Regions from separate parts of the Homo sapiens genome. Here all the other regions are linked to region 1. Evidence: promoter capture Hi-C in human tissues and cell types (Jung and others, 2019). All regions are on one chromosome and are shown on one strand. Each heading gives the region's core, a stretch centred on a gene start or on the middle of the fragment in contact. The rest is flanking DNA. Distances are from core to core; before and after follow the strand shown. Region 1 holds the start of MSX1 (msh homeobox 1). Region 2 overlaps NSG1 (neuronal vesicle trafficking associated 1). Region 3 overlaps STX18 (syntaxin 18). Region 4 overlaps STK32B (serine/threonine kinase 32B). Region 5 holds the start of STX18 (syntaxin 18). Region 6 overlaps LOC124900165.

The links. The method cuts DNA at HindIII sites, captures the fragments that hold promoters and counts their contacts. A contact is called where the count stands out against the background at its distance.
Region 2: a fragment that was not itself captured here is called in contact with the fragment with the promoter of MSX1 in region 1 in 2 of the 25 tissues and cell types used here (lymphoblastoid cells and spleen).
Region 3: a contact is called between a fragment that was not itself captured here and the fragment with the promoter of MSX1 in region 1, in 1 of the 25 tissues and cell types used here (mesendoderm cells).
Region 4: a contact is called between a fragment that was not itself captured here and the fragment with the promoter of MSX1 in region 1, in 2 of the 25 tissues and cell types used here (dorsolateral prefrontal cortex and spleen).
Region 5: the fragment with the promoter of STX18 here is called in contact with the fragment with the promoter of MSX1 in region 1 in 1 of the 25 tissues and cell types used here (mesendoderm cells).
Region 6: a contact is called between a fragment that was not itself captured here and the fragment with the promoter of MSX1 in region 1, in 2 of the 25 tissues and cell types used here (dorsolateral prefrontal cortex and mesendoderm cells).

Annotation. Positions count from the first base shown.
Region 1 is chr4:4,858,307-4,861,112 of GRCh38, reverse strand. MSX1 (msh homeobox 1) reads right to left here and starts at 1,448. Exons shown (of 2, transcript NM_002448.3): 1 at 745-1,448. The coding sequence starts at 1,213. RefSeq lists silencers at 857-1,296, 1,307-1,546, 1,567-1,626. The HindIII fragment of the contact is 22,824 bases long and covers 1-2,806 here.
Region 2 is chr4:4,405,815-4,408,620 of GRCh38, reverse strand. The region is part of intron 3 of NSG1 (neuronal vesicle trafficking associated 1); the gene reads right to left. Among named protein-coding and RNA genes, the nearest start is that of NSG1, 20 kb to the right of the region's middle. RefSeq lists a silencer at 2,537-2,667. The HindIII fragment of the contact is 6,386 bases long and covers 1-2,806 here.
Region 3 is chr4:4,456,797-4,459,602 of GRCh38, reverse strand. It overlaps STX18 (syntaxin 18), which reads left to right. Exons shown (of 11, transcript NM_016930.4): 3 at 116-231; 4 at 2,103-2,180; 5 at 2,346-2,412. Among named protein-coding and RNA genes, the nearest start is that of STX18-IT1, 24 kb to the left of the region's middle. The HindIII fragment of the contact is 8,382 bases long and covers 1-2,806 here.
Region 4 is chr4:5,185,254-5,188,059 of GRCh38, reverse strand. All of the region lies in intron 3 of STK32B (serine/threonine kinase 32B), which reads right to left. Among named protein-coding and RNA genes, the nearest start is that of STK32B, 140 kb to the right of the region's middle. The HindIII fragment of the contact is 5,864 bases long and covers 1-2,806 here.
Region 5 is chr4:4,540,595-4,543,400 of GRCh38, reverse strand. STX18 (syntaxin 18) reads left to right here and starts at 1,353. Exons shown (of 11, transcript NM_016930.4): 1 at 1,353-1,604. The coding sequence starts at 1,437. It overlaps LOC124900165, which reads right to left and starts at 1,270. Exons shown (of 6, transcript XM_047416490.1): 1 at 926-1,270. STX18-AS1 (STX18 antisense RNA 1 (head to head)) reads right to left here and starts at 1,270. Exons shown (of 6, transcript NR_037888.1): 1 at 926-1,270. RefSeq lists enhancers at 1,185-1,479, 1,204-1,483. The HindIII fragment of the contact is 5,470 bases long and covers 1-1,846 here.
Region 6 is chr4:4,579,990-4,582,795 of GRCh38, reverse strand. The region is part of intron 2 of LOC124900165; the gene reads right to left. The region is part of intron 2 of STX18-AS1 (STX18 antisense RNA 1 (head to head)); the gene reads right to left. Among named protein-coding and RNA genes, the nearest start is that of LINC03091, 5.5 kb to the right of the region's middle. RefSeq lists an enhancer at 1-449. The HindIII fragment of the contact is 7,283 bases long and covers 1-2,806 here.

The DNA.
Region 1 (2,806 bases), core at 199-2,698:
CGTGCTCCTGAAATATCTCCGAGCGTGTTCTCTGAGTAGAGCAGCCAGGGGGCCGTGAGGCCTTGGAGCGAACCGCCTTGGGCACCTGGAGTCCACTTTAATGGCTCAGTCCTAGACGTTTGGGAGCTTCCCATAGGATTAGCGGGGGCGCCTTCCCCTAATTGACTTGGTGCCCCGCCCCCTCCACTGGAACCTGAATGTCCCCACCCCTGAATCATCCATCCGCCCAAAGCACCAACTATCTGCCTCAAACTCAAAGGGCATGGGGAGGTAGAATTCTGTAGGAGCTTCGGAACCTCTAGGCAAAGAGGTACTTGAAAGGGAAGAGGGGCTGGGGGACACCAGCTCCTACTGCGAGAAAGTGAAACTCCGGGTGCAGGGAAGATACCGCACCACACACATTCATCCGCTGGGGTGAAGCCGATGAAACAGAGTTTGGGATCAGATGAGGGATCATGGACCCCTGAGGTCGTTTGGTGGGGGCAGGAGGACAGGGTGCCCAGACATCGGTGTCCTATCCGTTAACTCCCACCCGCAGCGTCTCTGGGCCAAGGCGAGGAGGTCTGGAACCTTCTTCCTGGGTGGGAGTGGAGGGAGGCGCAAGACCCGGCCTTGCAGCCCACGGCTCCCTAGCACCGGCTGCAGGTACGCAGGCGCCGGAGGCCACCAGGAGCCCTCGGGTCCCACACCCCACCCGGCCCCCACCCGGCCCCCTCCCTCTGCGCCTGGGTTCTGGCTACTCACTGGCCGGCGGCGGGGAGAAGCGGGGGCTCTGCATCCACGGGGTCCTCTCGGGCTTCTCGGGGCTCTCGGCTTTGACGAGCGCATCTTCTGGCAGCTTGAGGAGTCCCCCCACCGAGAAATGGCCGAGCGGCCGCGGCGAAGAGGGCGCGTCCGGGGCTCCCAGCGACCCCGGCGGGACGCCCAGTGGCTGCGCCGAGCCACCCGCCGCCTGCACGCCCTCGGAGGGCGCCAGGGCGCTCTCCTTGGCCCCCGGCTTCCTGTGGTCGGCCATGAGCGCCTCCACGCTGAAGGGCAGGAGCGAAGGGGACACTTTGGGCTTGGCCCCCTCCTCGTCCGCGCCCATGGCGGCTGCCGTGGCCGCGGCGGCGCTGGGGGCCTGGCCCGCGCCTCCCCCCGCCGGCTTGCCGAAGGCGGAGTCCTCCACTTTGACACCGAGTGGCAAAGAAGTCATGTCAGCAGCCGGGGCCATGCAGAGCCGGGCCCCCCCTTCTGCCGCAGCACTGGCCAGCCGCCGGGCATGGGCTCCGGGCGGGCTGGGAGCGCGGCCGGCCTCTGCGAGCGCCCGGGGCCCTGGCCGGGCGGACCCTCCCGCGCGCGCCTCCCGCCCCTCCCCAGCAGGCCAGCTCCGGCGTGCTGGGCCTGGCCTCCGGTCGCTGCCGCCGCGCAGGCAGAGTTCCCGGGAGCACTCGCCGGCTCCGGGCCCTACCGCGGCTCCCCAGAGAACTTGCTAATAAGGCGAGGCCAGCGGGGCGGCGGCCAATCAGCGCGCGAGGGGGCGGGCCCGGAGCGATCCATTGGGCCGCGCTCCTGGGGACTCGCCCGGAGGCGCGCTGGGCCTGGGGGCACGCAGGGCAGGGCCCAGGCGGCGGAGGGCAGGGGAGGAGAGGGGGTGCCCGGGAAACTTTCCTCTGCGCTGAAGCCCAAGAGGCCCTCTCTGCGGGAGTCCCCTGGGTCTCTATCTTTCTGTGTTCCCGGGGGATTTTCCCTTGTTCTCGTTCCTTCTCTTCTGCCCTCCTCTCCTCCCCTCCCCTCCCCTCCTCAGCCCTCTTTTCCGCTCCTCTTTTTTTCCCCGTCCTTGTTTCTCTCCTCTACTGCTTCTTTTACCTTTCTCTTTAGTCTGTGGCTGGGTTTCCCTGTGCCCCCCTCCACTGTCTGACCCCCCCTCTTCTTCTACCACAATAATTTGAGTTGAGGTTATTTCTTACACATTCCTTTTATATATAGTTTTTAAAATACGCATGGCTATTTATCCTAGGAGAAAGACATACTATTAACTTCTTTTCAAGAAACGAAACAAAACCAAACCTTCATTTTCTTCCTGTTCTGAAATCTTGTAAACTTTACCTCGAGGTAAAAGTGGGCCTTTGTCTCTAACTTAGAGCTGGAGTAAACCTTGCGGGAAGAAGCTAGCTTCCTGTAGTGCCAAGGATGTGAGAATACGTAAGATTATCTAGAATCTGCAGTCGGTTTTCATACACGATGTGTATTCCCCCCCCCCCACCCTCGCTCTGAACTTCTGTCCCAAGGGTCACAACACCTATAGCGCCCGGGCGGGGAAAGGAGCTGCCAGATCCTTTTGATATAGAACTTACTGAAATAAAACCAACAGAATCGTCAATGAAACACCGATCTGGCCTTAAGGTGACCTCAAACAACGCGTCCTCGGAAACAATGACATGTCCCTATCTCTGGGCCGCTGATCCTGGAGGGGAGAGGCACATTTGGGGGAGGGGGCTGGGAAAAGAGGAAAGTTCCTGGAGGTGGACTCTAGTGTGGGACTTGAGAACTCTTCTTTTGCCAATTTCGGAGAAAACGTGATTTAATGTTTGCTGTTAATAATAATAATAATAATAAAGACAGAAAAAATGAGTTGGGGTCAGGGGAGATGCAAGATCTGCCTGAAGCGGGGTCGGGGCTTGGCCATTTTCTGCGCCTGTCGCTTTATGGCCTCTCCTCCTGCGGCCCAGGCCAGCGGCTCTCAGGGAGTGAGCGGAGGTGATTGGCGGCTCACTCGGCCCTGCCATTGATGACTGCGGGGTTCTAATCTCCAGGAAACACAAGG
Region 2 (2,806 bases), core at 136-2,635, 450 kb after region 1:
GCATGTTGGTGCGCACCTGTAATCCCAGCTACTCAGGAAAGCTGAGGCAGGAGAATCGCTTGAACCCAGGAGGCAGAGGCTGCAGTGAGCTGAGATAGTGCCACTGAACTCCAGCCTGGGTGACAGAGCGAGACTCTACCTCAAAATAAATCAATCAATAAAAAGCTAAAACAGCGTGCAGATGGCCCTCCGCCTGCCCAGAGAGGCAGAGAGAGCGATGGGGCTCCCTGGCCGGGTGGGAGGATGCCAGGTGCCAGCACGTGGCAGGGCCTCCGTAATCGTATGAACATGCACAGAGCTGCTCGCTCCCCACCGCCCCTCCCAGCAGCCTGGAGGATGCGAGGGGCTGGGACTCTCCCCTGGCCACATACAGACCCTACAGCCAACAAGGTTAAAGAACTGGGGAGCTCTGCTGCTTCCTAAGGCTGCAGTCCCGAAGCTCAACTGGGTAGACCCTCCAGCAGAGTGCCCTCCTGAGCCCTGCCCGCTTCAGGAACTCTAGGCTTGGAGTCCCCTAACACCATGCAGTCCCCAGTTCCCATCTGTGATAGGAGACCAAGGGCGTCCCAGGCACTGGTCCTGGGGAAGCAGGAGATGTACGTGAGAAAGTGTCCTATCAGCCGTGCAGCATGGTCACCTGGGAGACGGGCGGCCACCCTGCCGTGAATGCTGAGGCTAACCCTCCTTCTCTTTGGGGGCCCCTATGCACCCCCTGCAAGCCGCTCAGGCCCCAGCACCAGGGCCCAGGGTGCAGATTCTGCCTGCAGCTCTGCACCTTCGCAGCTTACCAGCCTCACCACCTTGGAAGCCCCTTAACCTCTCTGAGCCACAGACTCCTTCCCTATGACATGGGACGACACCTCCACCACGTCCCCGTCTCTGCAAGGCTGCAGATGCCTGGAGAGCCACACTAGTCACTGCAGCTCATCCCCTGCCTCCACTTCCCGGAGGTCTTCATCTCCAGGCCTCACAATTGTCCCCGAGCCTGCATCCTGACTGCAGGGAGCCCTGGCCACAGGACCAGCTGAATGGGGTGGCTCAGAGCTGAGGGACGTGGCCTCTCTGCAGTCAGATTCCTGTCCATTGTGCTGCCAGATTCATTGGTCCCAGGGGCTCTCAGCACAGTGCCCGGGGCAGGACAAGGGCAGCACCAAGACCCTGAGACCCCAGCCCAGGCTGCTCTCGCACTCCGCCTGGCTACCTGCTACATCCCACCGCCCGCCCTCCCATCTCCCCAGCTCAGACCCACTACAACTCCAATGAGACCTGTCCCCTCTGTGTCCCTTCACCTAGGGAGGGACCCCTCAGGCCCCTGGCAGGCAGATTCACATCCCCTCTGAGCAGGCCCATCCTCCTGGTCCCCAGGTCCTGCCAGTTCCTCAGTCACGTCTCCCGCCTCCACTCCCCCAACCCCGACCGTAGGTTGCCTTCTCAGGGCCATCACCCTCTCTAAGGGCCAGAGAAACTCCAGTCCACTGGGATGGCCTACAGTGCATATGGAGCCTGTGCCTGACAAGGGACACAGACAGGATGGAGCCAGGCTGCTCCCCAGGGCCGCAGTGCCCACAGGGAAAGGCGCCGTTTAGTCCAGATCACAGCTGCAGTGCACAGGCCAGCGCACAGCACCTGGGCCAGGGCAGCAGAGCGCAGAGCTGTGATGAAGCAGGCAGAGCTGGCCGGAGAAAGAAGGCGCAGCCGTCTGAGGCACGTGGCAGCCAGAGGCAGTGGCAGGAGCCCAGCCAGGGAGGGCTGCCTGGCGATGATAGCCGCAAGCCCTGATGGTGCCTGGGGTTGGGACAGGCTCTGGACAGGGGCCGGAGCACAGACCCTGCGGCTCTAGCTCACTGGCCGGGAGTCTGGCACCTGGCTCCAGCCTGTGAATAGCAGTGAAAGGAACGCCTTCCAGGGACAGTCACGGGACACTGAGAACAGCACCTGGGTTGGGGGGGAGCATGACGGAGCTGTCTGCTGTCGCTGCTGTTATCCTCACTCTCATCTCCTCACTGGCCCTGGGGTGTGCGCCTGGCAGACAGCAGAGCGGGCTCTCAACCCTCTAACCAGCTGCCCCGTCGCATGTTCACCCGGGGCCAGCCTGCCCGGGCTCCAGCTACCTGCCTTTCTCCAAGTCTACACTGCAGGGCTGCCTCACTCAGGGTGGTCCAGAAGGACTTGGTTCCATTTAACTGGCCTCCTTCGTAACCCTTTGCATTTTATTCTGTGCATCTGAAAACACTATTCTGAGAAGAGAGCCAAGCCACCACAGGTGCAGATGTCCTGTTAGAAGAGGGTTTCAGGGGCAGACGTGGTGGCTCACGCCTGTAATCCCAACACTTTGGGAGGCAGAGGCGGGTGGATCATGAGGTCAGGAGTTCAAGACCAGCCTGGCCAGCATGGTGAGACCCCGTCTCTACTAAAAATATAAAAAATTAGCCGGGCGTGGTGGTGAGTGCCTGTAATCCCAGCTACTCAGGAGGCTGAGGCAGGAGAATCGCTTGAACCCAGGAGGTGGAGGTTGCAGTGAGCCAAGATCGCGCCACTGCACTCCAGCCTGGGCAACAGAGTGAGACTCCGTCTCAAAAAAAGAAGAGGGTTTCAAGTCCTTGAAGAGATGGGGCATCATTAAACCTGTTTCTCCAGTTGGGAAGCCACATCAGTTTGGCTCCTGGTACCCCACCTGTCTAGATTTAAAAAGAACCCCCATTCTCTCCTGCAGGGCTGTGGGGGAACCACCTCCTCGGGGGTGTCCTCCGAAACCTGGCCAAGCCTTTCCTCCAGGATCCCAGGCCCAACGGCTGAGGAGCCAGCC
Region 3 (2,806 bases), core at 1-2,500, 400 kb after region 1:
AAGTCTCAGCTTAAATGTCACCTGATCAGGGAGGCCTTTTCTTCTCTTCCCATCCCACTCAGACTATATTATGTTCTCATTTGCTGCTGCCCTTTCCTTTGCTGTCTTTTTTTAGCCATACCATGTCTGAATATGGGAGGATGACAGACACAGAACGAGACCAGATAGACCAGGATGCCCAGATATTCATGAGGACCTGTTCAGAAGCAATTCAGCAACTACGAACAGAAGGTAAAGTGCTCTGAAAGATGCAAACAAGCAACCATGAATATAGCAAGTAGTTAAACAAGATGCATATGGTGCGGCCAGTTAAAATTCCCTCTTCTTATTTCGATTTAGGTTTTAAAACGTTAAAATCTTTTCTTTCTTGATCAATGTTTTAACCAAAGCTGTTAAAAGTACTGCAAAGGCTGTATCATTCAAGTTAAACCAATGAGAGGAGGGAGATGGAAAGGACCTCTCCAAACAGAACCAAAAATATATCTAGGGGCCAGGGGCAGTGAAGACAAATTTGTGTGTGTGTGTGTGTGTGTGTGTGTGCGTGTGTGTGTGTTCTGTGTGGCAAATTGTATGTGTGTGGGTGTGTATGTGTGTATGCACATGTGTGCCTCTGTTCTGTGTGGCATTTAGTGGGATGGGAGTTGACAGCAGCCTGGGGTACTTAAGCTCTACTTGTAATATTCAAGTAAACTTTCCTATCAAACCTTCAAGGTTAGGAGGAAGGCTCTGGAGCCAGGGCTGCTTAGGTTGCACCCCAACTCCACCCGTCCGAGCCATATAGCCCTCTGCAAATCACTTAATCTCCCTGGGCCTTGTTTTTTTGTCTATGAAATGCAGACAATTAGGGAATGTATCTCTAGGGTTGTTATGAGCATTAAGTTAAATTCCTACAGCATGCTTAGAACTGTGTCTGGCACAAGAGCGCTTATTATCTCACTTTCGTTGATGTTTAATTCTCACTGAGACAATGAGATGGCTTCCCAAGTCACGCCTCTTTCTTGATTCTTTTTTAATTTGCTTAGGCATTTACAGAGTACATTAAATAGTAAGTAGAGTTCAAAGCTGCCAGATGCTGTTGTGCTCACAACACAGACTTTTGTTGGGGAGGTTTTTATTAGAATGCTGACGGACCACTTGGAGACTCTGATGGAAGCAATAGGCATTCTTGCCAGAAAAATGTACATACACAAAATTCTATATGCAATTTCACAGAGCTCCTGAGTCCCCCACACAAATCTTGGGTTAAGCAGCCCTATAGTAAGGCAGAAATCATGCCCTCTACCCTTAAGGGCATATACATTCATTGAGAGACCTAAAAAATGCACAGGAATATTTAACAAAACCTACATTTACATATGAAACCATCTAACCTTGGGCTATTTATTGCCTCTGAACCTTAGTTTCTTCACGTGTAAAAATCAGGAAACTCGGAATTGCTATTGTAATTACTAGCAGTACATATGTAAAGTGCTAGCAGAGTACCTGCACGCAGTAGGCACTCAGTCTCTCAGTCAGTGGTCACTATCTTACCAAAACCAGTGGCACAGACTTTAGGTCTGGTAAGGCCTTTTAGCACACTTCTGTGTGGTAGTTCCCAGGAGAAAGGCATCTTTGTGGCTAGGAGTCATAGGTTTCCTGGAGACAGAAAGTTTGACTCATTGTCTAAGGGACCCTTAGAATGTGAGTGGCCAAGGGGAGAGGATGGGGCACTACAGGCTGAAAAGCAGCACAGGTTCAAGCAGGGAGGAGTGTGTGATTTCAGTTGTTTAAACATGTTCGCTGAAGGTCAGCTTGAGCATTGGATGCTGTTAACACAGATGGGGTCAGCACTCAAGAAGTGGCTGCGTCAAATACTATCCTTAAGTGTTCTGATAAACCATAAATTATTTGACTATAGATTTTCTACAGGTTTAATCTTTCACTCTTGCGAAGCCTGATACATCTTACTGTTTTAAAAATGTAGTGTCACTTGGCACAAGACTTGTTTTATAGCTGTGTTTTAAAAAATACTCTCAATAAAGAAAGTGTTGTGAGGAAGCTGATGAATTGCTCTTTAGGATAATTGAGTGCGAAGGCCTGAACATTGTCTTTTTCTGTTACAGCTCACAAGGAGATACATTCCCAGCAAGTGAAGGAGCACAGGACCGCTGTTTTGGATTTCATTGAAGATTACTTGAAAAGTATTTCATTTTCTTTTAAAGGTCAAATGTAACATTTCACAATAGATGTGATGCAGAATTTAGCTTTGCTAGCTGAAGACTGTAGTATCTCATTATATTTAATGATGGCTTTGCCTGAGAAGCTGTTTTAAGCAGTCTCTCTTCTGGTATTTTCTTCTGCAACAGGAGTATGTAAACTTTACTCAGAACAGAGAGCCATCCGAGTTAAAAGAGTGGTGGATAAGAAAAGATTGTAAGTATTGCTTTCATTGGTGTTTCTTAATTAATAATAGTACTACTAATAATAGCAGTTAAAGTTTGTAGAGCACTTACCCTATGCAATGTACCGTGTTTGAACTTCTTCGCAAAATGCCATAGCTGGCGCTACCGGGCACTCACTGTGTGCCAGGCAGCATGCCAGCCACTTTATTGGCCCACAACAAACCCCCATGAGGCAGGTACTGTTTCCTCCCTCATTTTACAAATGAGGAAGTTGAGGCTCAGGAGGCTTGGCCACTCACCCTAGATCCCACAGTCCCACAGGTAGCATAGCTGGGGTTTGAGCCTAGGCTGTTGGTCCAAAATCTGTGCTCTTGCCCATTTTGTCTCTTAACCCGATGAGGCTGGCACATCTTGAGCCATTTTAC
Region 4 (2,806 bases), core at 210-2,709, 330 kb before region 1:
TAATTTGAAGCTCACAAAGCATGAAAGGGAGGGAGCTGTAGGCGCGCCCTACACGAGGAAACTGAGGCTTTCAAGGGGTACACACCTAGGAAGAGGAAAGGCCATTTTCCACGTCTACTACATTGTTGAGTATAATAACCACGCTTCCTTCCTCTCCCTCAGAGTAGCATCCATCACTTACTCATCTTGTTATTTTTGAGGCTTAGCTTTGGGCCTAACTCACAGAAGTTGGCTTTAGAAAGAGCATAGGCTTTGGTGTTAGATCTGAGTCTGGCAGAGTTGTGCGGGAGCCGGCTTATACTAGCTCATCATAATCAAATGCTAAATCTTCAGAAATGTTGCAGGCTGGCTGACACCATATTGTTAGTTTGAAATCAACCATTATGAGAAACTATTTACACCATGGAAATTGGCAAACAGGGCTTGTCCCCCCCCTCCCCCGCCCGGCCCCTGCCACCCTGCCCCGACACACCCCATCCTGGAGAGCTGGTTGTTAAGCATTTACCAGCACACCATTGCTTTTAATCCCAGTACTGACTCTTGTTGGCTATATATTTTGCACAAATAACTTAATCCACTAGTCTTCAGCTTTTCCAGCTGTAAACGAGACAGTAACATCCACCTTGCACGATGGTTCTGAGGATTAATCCAGATAAAATATGCAAAGAGCCATGTGCTGTAGGTGATGGACAAATGGTACTGGTACTACTATTACTGAATAGGTGTGGGATAAATTTACTAATTCCCCATGGACCAAGAGAGTCCTGGTTCAGAAGACCCTTGGGAAAGCATGAAGAGCAGTCAGGAAAACGGGCACAAGAAGGTGCTGTGTTGTGGTGCGGGAGAAGCGGAGTACCCCACACACAGCCCACAGGTCTGGAAGAATCCTGGCTCTTCCACGTGACCCTGGGTAAACCCCATGGCTTCTCTGACTACTGGACGGATTCCCTCACTCACCTGCAGGAACTGCCTGACACACCACAGCCAATCCCCCAAGCCCAGCTGTGTTTTCCCCAATTCCTGTTTTTGTACTGCGTGTCCTCTGGCTCCTCATGCAGCCCTCTGAACAGCTCAGCACAGGCCCCCTGAGTGTCGGAGTGCGGGCAGGTGCATCCTGTGACCCACACTCACAGCTGCCAATCCTGCCCCCTGAAGAATAACAAACTCATGTCACTTACAAAGAAAACATTACACACCTGGTATCTTTAAAGCATAAGATGAAGTTTCCATGGTGCTACAAATGCTGGAACAGTCAAGAATGAGAGAGGGACTCTAGATAGGAGAGCCTCGCCTCTTAACCCTCTATTTATGGGTGTTACCATGGGGATGGGTATGTCGAGGAGGCGCTGGAGACTGATGAAGACATCGCTAATTGGAACTGGGAAAACCCCAGGGACATTCTCCATCTCTGTGTGTTGGGGATGGACCAGGATATCACTTAACCCTCCAGGGCATGGTGGGTGTTTGAAATCTCTATAGTTTTTAAGTTAACCCAGGACACCAAAGCACGATAACCATCCCAGATGGAGGGAAGAGAGCAAGCGAGATAAGCGACTGCTGGTTAGCATCTGTCTTCTCTCACCTGTAAGACAGGGAGGAACTGTCTTCCTCACAGTTCTGCCACCAGGGTCTAGCACAGCATTTGGCATGTCAGGGGCCCTTAACAGCACTACATAAATTAATCTACTGAACGTCAGATGCTAGGGAGACAGAGATGAATAAGGTATGGTCCCCTTCCTCAAGCGGCCCACTGCTCACGGAGGAAACACACACCCCAGCAGATAACCGTGACAGAGCTGCCTTTATGCCATAACAGGATCTGCGAGAAAGCACCACTGTCTGGGGCTGGTGTCCCGAGGAGGGCTGATGGAGGAGGTGAGGCCTGGACTATGAACTCCAAGAGGACAGGAGCCATACTGACTGTCTTCACCACTGCACCCTTAGAAATTGGAACAGTGCCTGGTACCCAATAAGAGCCCAGTGAATAGCGACTTAATGAATGAATTCCTGTGGAGGATGAGCAGGAGTTCTCGCAGTGACCGAAGAACAGACGGTGTTCCAGGCAGAGGGCACAGCCTGAGCAGAGGCCTGGAGAGATGAGAACAGTAGGATGTATGACAGATCACCCACAAACCAGTTAGTATGGACGAGAACAAAAATGGCCCAAGATGGTAGTAGGGGTGGGTGTCAGGGGATGAGACTGTACATAGTGTTACAGGCTAGATCACAGAAAGACGTTCATTCTGAGGGCTTCGGGAGCCATTGTGGTATTTTATGCAGAGGCGTGGTAGGCACAGACTTACGCTTTGATAAGACCTGTCCTGTGAAGGGCACGTGGGTGATGGGTAACTGGCTGGGCATTGAAACAGTAGTTAGGAGCCTATAGCAACAGTTCAGGCTAGGGACAATTGCTTCTGTGGAAATGACACTGCTCAGCATCTAGCAATTGTTTATAAGGCTGAGAAGCTTTGTCAAAGGTTTCCCTGATGCCTTCCAGTCTCTGTCCTCCCCCACGTCCCTTTCCCTGCCCTCCACTACTTCAGCCAGATCGGCTCTGCCTTCAAATACTTAATATAGTTTTATTTTAATCAAAGCTCTCAACACTTAAAATGTAGCCTCTGATTTAAGTGATTGTTTCTTGGCTTAGACTGGCAGGTAGATATCCGTGTACTGACTCAGTCCATTGCAACTCAAAAATGATTCTAGAAACCTACATTGCCCTGAGAGCCATTTAAACTAACTTCTGACATCTGTTCTCATCCTGAGAATGTTCATTCATTCTCTCGGTTGTTTAGGCAATAGACAG
Region 5 (2,806 bases), core at 104-2,603, 320 kb after region 1:
ACATTATCGACATTTACTATATGAGAAATCAAAACAAAAACTTGATGTTTTTGAAAGTCTTTTTTTGGAGTCTGGCTTAATAGAAAACAGCTGTTCTGCATTTACTCCGTTGCAATATCACAGTCTCCAGCAAACTCAACTGTATGCAACTCATAAGAAAATCAGAGCGAAAAGGCAAATAACATCTTAGTATTGTGAAAATTTTATCTTGATGACCATTAAAACTGCTGTTTTAATACATATTCTACTTGTGCTTCCTCTTTATGAAAAAAGAAATCTTGAAGAAATCAATGAGATTTTGAATTAAAACTGAACCATAGGCCAGGCACGGTTGCACGTGCCTATAGTCCCAGCTACTCAGGAGGCTGAGTCCGGGAGGATCGTTTGAGCCCTGGCGTTCCAGCTGTAGTGAGCTAGGATGGCGCCTCTGACTAGCCACTGCAATCCAGCCTGGGCAACATAGTAGACCCCCGTCTCAAAAAACAACACAAAACAGAACATGAACCTAAAATGCAGAAGAAACTCATTGATTGAGTTGTCAATTTTAATAGCTATGGCTCAAGACGGTACAATTAAAAACTATGCATGAAGGATGAAGAGAATCCAGCGGCATTAGGGCCACTCTTTCACCTTTGTCTCCATCTAAACTTCCTATTCATCCTTCAAATCTCTGCACAGGTGACGCCTTTTCTCTAAAGCCTCTTCCTTTACCACAAATAACAGTGATTATAATAATAACATTATTAACGATTACTACCATTTATTGGCCACTTACTAGGAGCCAAGCAACATCAAAACACAGCACGCGTCAGCTCACTTAATTTTCACAGTAAACCCCGAGGAGGATGCTGGCTTCACTTTAAAAAGAGGTGACTGAAGGTTGGAGAAGAAAGGCCTCTGGCCTCTAGCTCTGTGCCTTGCACACCTGATCTGTCTCAGCATTTATTGCATCCCGAGGGTCACCGTCCACGTGCCTCTATCCTGCTCAAGGTGAGTTCTTGCAGTCAAAGGTCAAGGGTGGCTCGTCTCCACTTCCCCCGCAACCAAACCGCCCGGTCTCAGTGAGGGAGCCGCCAGAAGGGAAGGAGCCTCCTAGCTTCCCGGTCCTCACGCTCCCGGAGCCCACACGCCCCAAACAGACACAGAAGAGCTCGCTGAGCTCTCCGCGCAGCTAAACCCTCCAAGCTTTGCTGGGAGAAACCGATGCCCGAGAGCGCGTCGCGAGGTTCCTCCTCCGCCAGGTGCGCCGGCTGAGGCCGGAACCTTTTTCCTCCCGCCGCGGTAGCAGGGCGCAGGCCGGAACCTTTCTTCTCGCGTCGCCGTTGCCGGGGGGAGGCGTGTGGGGCAGGACCAGTCCTTCAGCGGCCGGGTTCGCGCCGCGGTCGCCGGCTGCTTACGTGGGCGGGCCTAGTGTGGGGCTGAGGGTGCGGGTCGCTATGGCGGTGGACATCACGCTGCTATTCCGGGCCAGCGTCAAGACCGTGAAGACGCGGAACAAGGCGCTGGGAGTGGCGGTGGGCGGCGGGGTCGATGGCAGCCGGGACGAGCTGTTCCGCCGGAGCCCCCGGCCCAAGGGCGACTTCTCCAGCCGGGCCCGCGAAGTGGTGAGCTGGTTGCTATGGAAACGGCGGGTTGAGGAGGGGGCAGTCCTGCGACAGGGACCCCGGGCCCCAAACCAGACCCCGTCCCGTAAGCATTGTGTGAAGGGGGTGGCTCTAAGGGGGACAGAAGAGTTGGCCTCAGAGACCCTACAGCTTTTTGGGGGAAGGAACAGCCTTATTTTGAGGAAGGGGGACGCATATTGGGGAACAGATTTCTCCTGCGGCGACAGGGATTGGGGGACAAGAAAGGAGATCCTCAGAAATCTCTATCTGGAAAGTGCATGGGCGGCTTTGTGAGGTCATGAGTTCGCCGTCACTACAGACTTGCACTCAGGGGAAACCTCCTGACAGTCCTTCGCTTCCTGTTGCAGCACTGACCACACCATATTTGCCTGTTCTATTTACTTGTCTGCCTCCCACCCCTAGTTGAGATTAAAAACTGTATTCAGCCGAACTCTTTCTTCCCTTTGTCTCTGCAATAAGTAGGACTCAGTTCCTCTTGAGACGGGTTTAGGGTAATCTTTCGCAAACACAGTGTTACAGTCACCTCAACTACTTTCTGTTCCCTGATCAGAGCAGGTGTCCCTTCATCTCCCTGGGAACAGGAACCTTTTCCTTAAGGGCAGGGACAGTGTTGTTTTCATCTCAGAATGCATGACTCATAGCATTGCTTAGTAAATGTTTGTTGAATGAGTGAATGAACAAATGGCTGTCTTTCCCATTAAACAGAAAACTCCATAAGGGGAGAGCTGTTTGTCTTGTTCCCTTTTGTGTTCGTGACACCAAGGAGGTATCTAGGTTTTGTGGGGCCTACAGCTTATATAGTTCTGTCTGCCCTCTTCAAGAAATAAAAATCACCAAGAAAGATTCAGAGCTTTGGAAGATTGAAGAGAGGGACCCTAAAGCTTAAGCCTCATTAATTTCACAGTAAATCCTTCTCTGCTTGGCATACACTTGGCACTGTATAGACACTCAGATATTTTTGAATGAATGTAGTCATGCATGCATTAATGACAGTTAGCAGAGGATACTTAAACATTAGAAAGGGGATTGGACCAGATGAATACACTCGCCCTATTGATGACCGTCTATGAAGCACCTACCTTCTGACCAGCCTCGTGTTAGAGTAATATGATGTAAAAGCAGTGGTGGAGTAGACGGACATAGACATAAAACAAGTGCCATAAAGCCTTGCAGGTGTTGTG
Region 6 (2,806 bases), core at 212-2,711, 280 kb after region 1:
CATTAGATTCTCATAGGAGCGCCAACCCTATCGTGAGCTGCACATTCCAGGGATCTAGGTTGCAGGCTCTTTATGAGAATCTAACAATGCCTGATGACCTGAGCTGGAACAGTTTCATCCCAAAACCATTCCCCTGCCCCCGATCCATGAAAAAAATTGTCTTCCATTAAACTGGTCCCTGGTGCGGAAAAGATTGGGGACCGCTGCTCTACGGGAACAGGTACAGGAATAATACAGAATGCATAACGAATAAGTTAGCAGGGTGGGGAAAATGGAATAATTTTCAAAATTTTTTTAGCAATCCAAAAATTATCAGATATCTAAAATAGTAAAACCCAATTACATTGTGATTATATGAAACATTTACCTTAAAGATAAGGAGTCTGAAAAACTGAAATTAAAAGGACAGGAAAAGCTGATACATAACTACATTAACATATACTTAATAACAACACTACATAATTATAACACATACATATGTAGTTATATAACATATAAAGACAATACATTCTGTAAGGCAAGATTTGTTACTAGAGATATTTTATAATATCAAAAAGTCATTTAATAAGATAATAATTTAAAATTTGCATGCAGCAAAAAACATAGCCTCAAAGAAAGTGGGACAAAAGGAGAAACAGTCAAATCCATTATCCTAGTGGAGATTTTAAAATACATCTCTCAGTTATTGAAAGAAAAAGCAGAGAGAAATTCAGTAAAGATATAAAAGATTTTAACATGATTAATGAACTGGAGCCAATAAAAATAAATAGAGCTGGCCGAGCACGGTGGCTCACACCTATAATCCCAGCTCTTTGGGAGGCTGAGGCAGGTGGATCACCTGAGGTCAGGAGTTTGAGACGAGCCTGGCCAACATGGTGAAACACTGTCTCTACTAATAATATAAAAATTAGCCAGGTATGGCGGCACGTGCCTGTAATCCCAGCTACTGGGGAGGCTAAGGCAGGAGAATCACTTGAACCCAGGAGACAGAGGTTGCAGTGAGCCGAGATCATGTCGTTGCACTCTAGTCTGGGCAACAGAATGAGACCCTGTCTCAAAAAAAAAAAAAAAAAAAAAAAGGCAATGCAACCAACAGCTGCAGTTTACATATTCCCTTTTTTTTTTTTTTTTTGAGACAGGGTCTCACTCTGTTGCCCAGGCTAGAGTGCAGTGGCACAACCGTGGCTCACAGCAGCCTCAATCTCTGAGGCTCAAGCTATCCCCGCAACCTCAGGACCATAGATGTGCATCACCATGCCCAGCTATTTTTTTTTAAATTTTTTGTAGAAATGGAGTCTCACTATGTTGCTCAAACTGGTCTCAAACTCCTGGGCTCAAGTGATCCTCCTGCCTGGGCCTCTCAAAGTGCTGGGATTACAGGCGAGAGCCACCATGCCCAGCCAATCTCAATGAGTTTGAAAGGTTTATCATCATACAGTTATACTCTCTGATCATAGTGAAATTAAGCTAGAAATCAATAATAACATAACTAGGAAAACTCTAAATATTTATATTTATGTGTGTATAGCAGCATAAATCATGATAGCCAAAACCGGAAGCAAACCACATGCCATTCAACTGGAGAAGAAATAAACAAGCTGTGGCATATCCATACAATGGAATACAGGGCAGCAAGAAGAAAGAGCACATGACTACTATACACGGCTACAGGGAGGAGTCTTGCACGCACATTGTTGAATGAAGGAAGCCAGATATAAAAGACAGCTTACTCTATGGTTTCATTTATATAAAATCCAAAAATGAGCAAAACTAATATACAGCAACTGCAGTACAAATAGCGGTTCCCTTTCTTAGGGGATAATGACAGGAGGCACATAGGAGGGGGACTTCAGGGCATCTATCAGGCTTCATATCTTGATCTGAGTGGTGGTTCCAAGGGGATATTCATCATTTTGTAAAAGTTCTTAGTGCTGGGCACTTGAGTTATGCAAATTGCTGGATACAAGTTCTACTTTCAGAAGAAGTTTGCCCCTCGCCAAAACAAGAAACTTCATTCATAGGCTGGTTAAATAGCCAGATCTGGAGTCAGGCAGCCTGAGCTCAAATCCTGGCTCAACTGTTTACACTCTGTGTGTCCTTAGACTATGTAGCTTCTCTACGCCTCAGTTTCCTCATCTGCAAAATGGGGATATCACCAGTACTTAAGCCTAAGGTTGTTTTGTGGACTTATGAGTTGATCCATGCAAAGTACTTACCATAGTATCAAATATATAGTAAGATCTCAACTTACATTGCTCTTTTTAAAAAAGATCTTTGCAACCAACCTAGAGGGCCACACAACGTTGGGAGTAAAAGCAAGGACTTTATACCCTTGGACATTTTTCCCAGAAAAGTAAAAACTTTTGTTTGCACAAACACCTGTACGTGAATGTTCACAGCAGCATTTCTCATAATGGCCAGAAACTGGACACAGATATTCTTCAGTGGGTAAATGGTTAAAGAAACTGTGGTACTTCTATGCCATGGAACACCACTCAGTTAAAATTAAAAAAAAAAACAAAACACTACTGATGCATGCCATAACTCAGTGACTCTCAAGAGAATTAGACTGAGTCAAAAAGCCAATCCCAGAAGCATATACTTCCACTTACAGAACATTCTCGAAATAATGAAATTATAGAGATAGAGAACAGGTTTAGTGTTACAAGAATGAGGGATGCTGGGTGACATGGAGAAGTAGATGTGATTATTAAAGGCTGCAGAAGCCTGTGCTGACAGAGCTGTTGTGTATCTTGACTGTGGCGCTACATACATGGACCTACATACATGTTAAAATTGCAAAGAA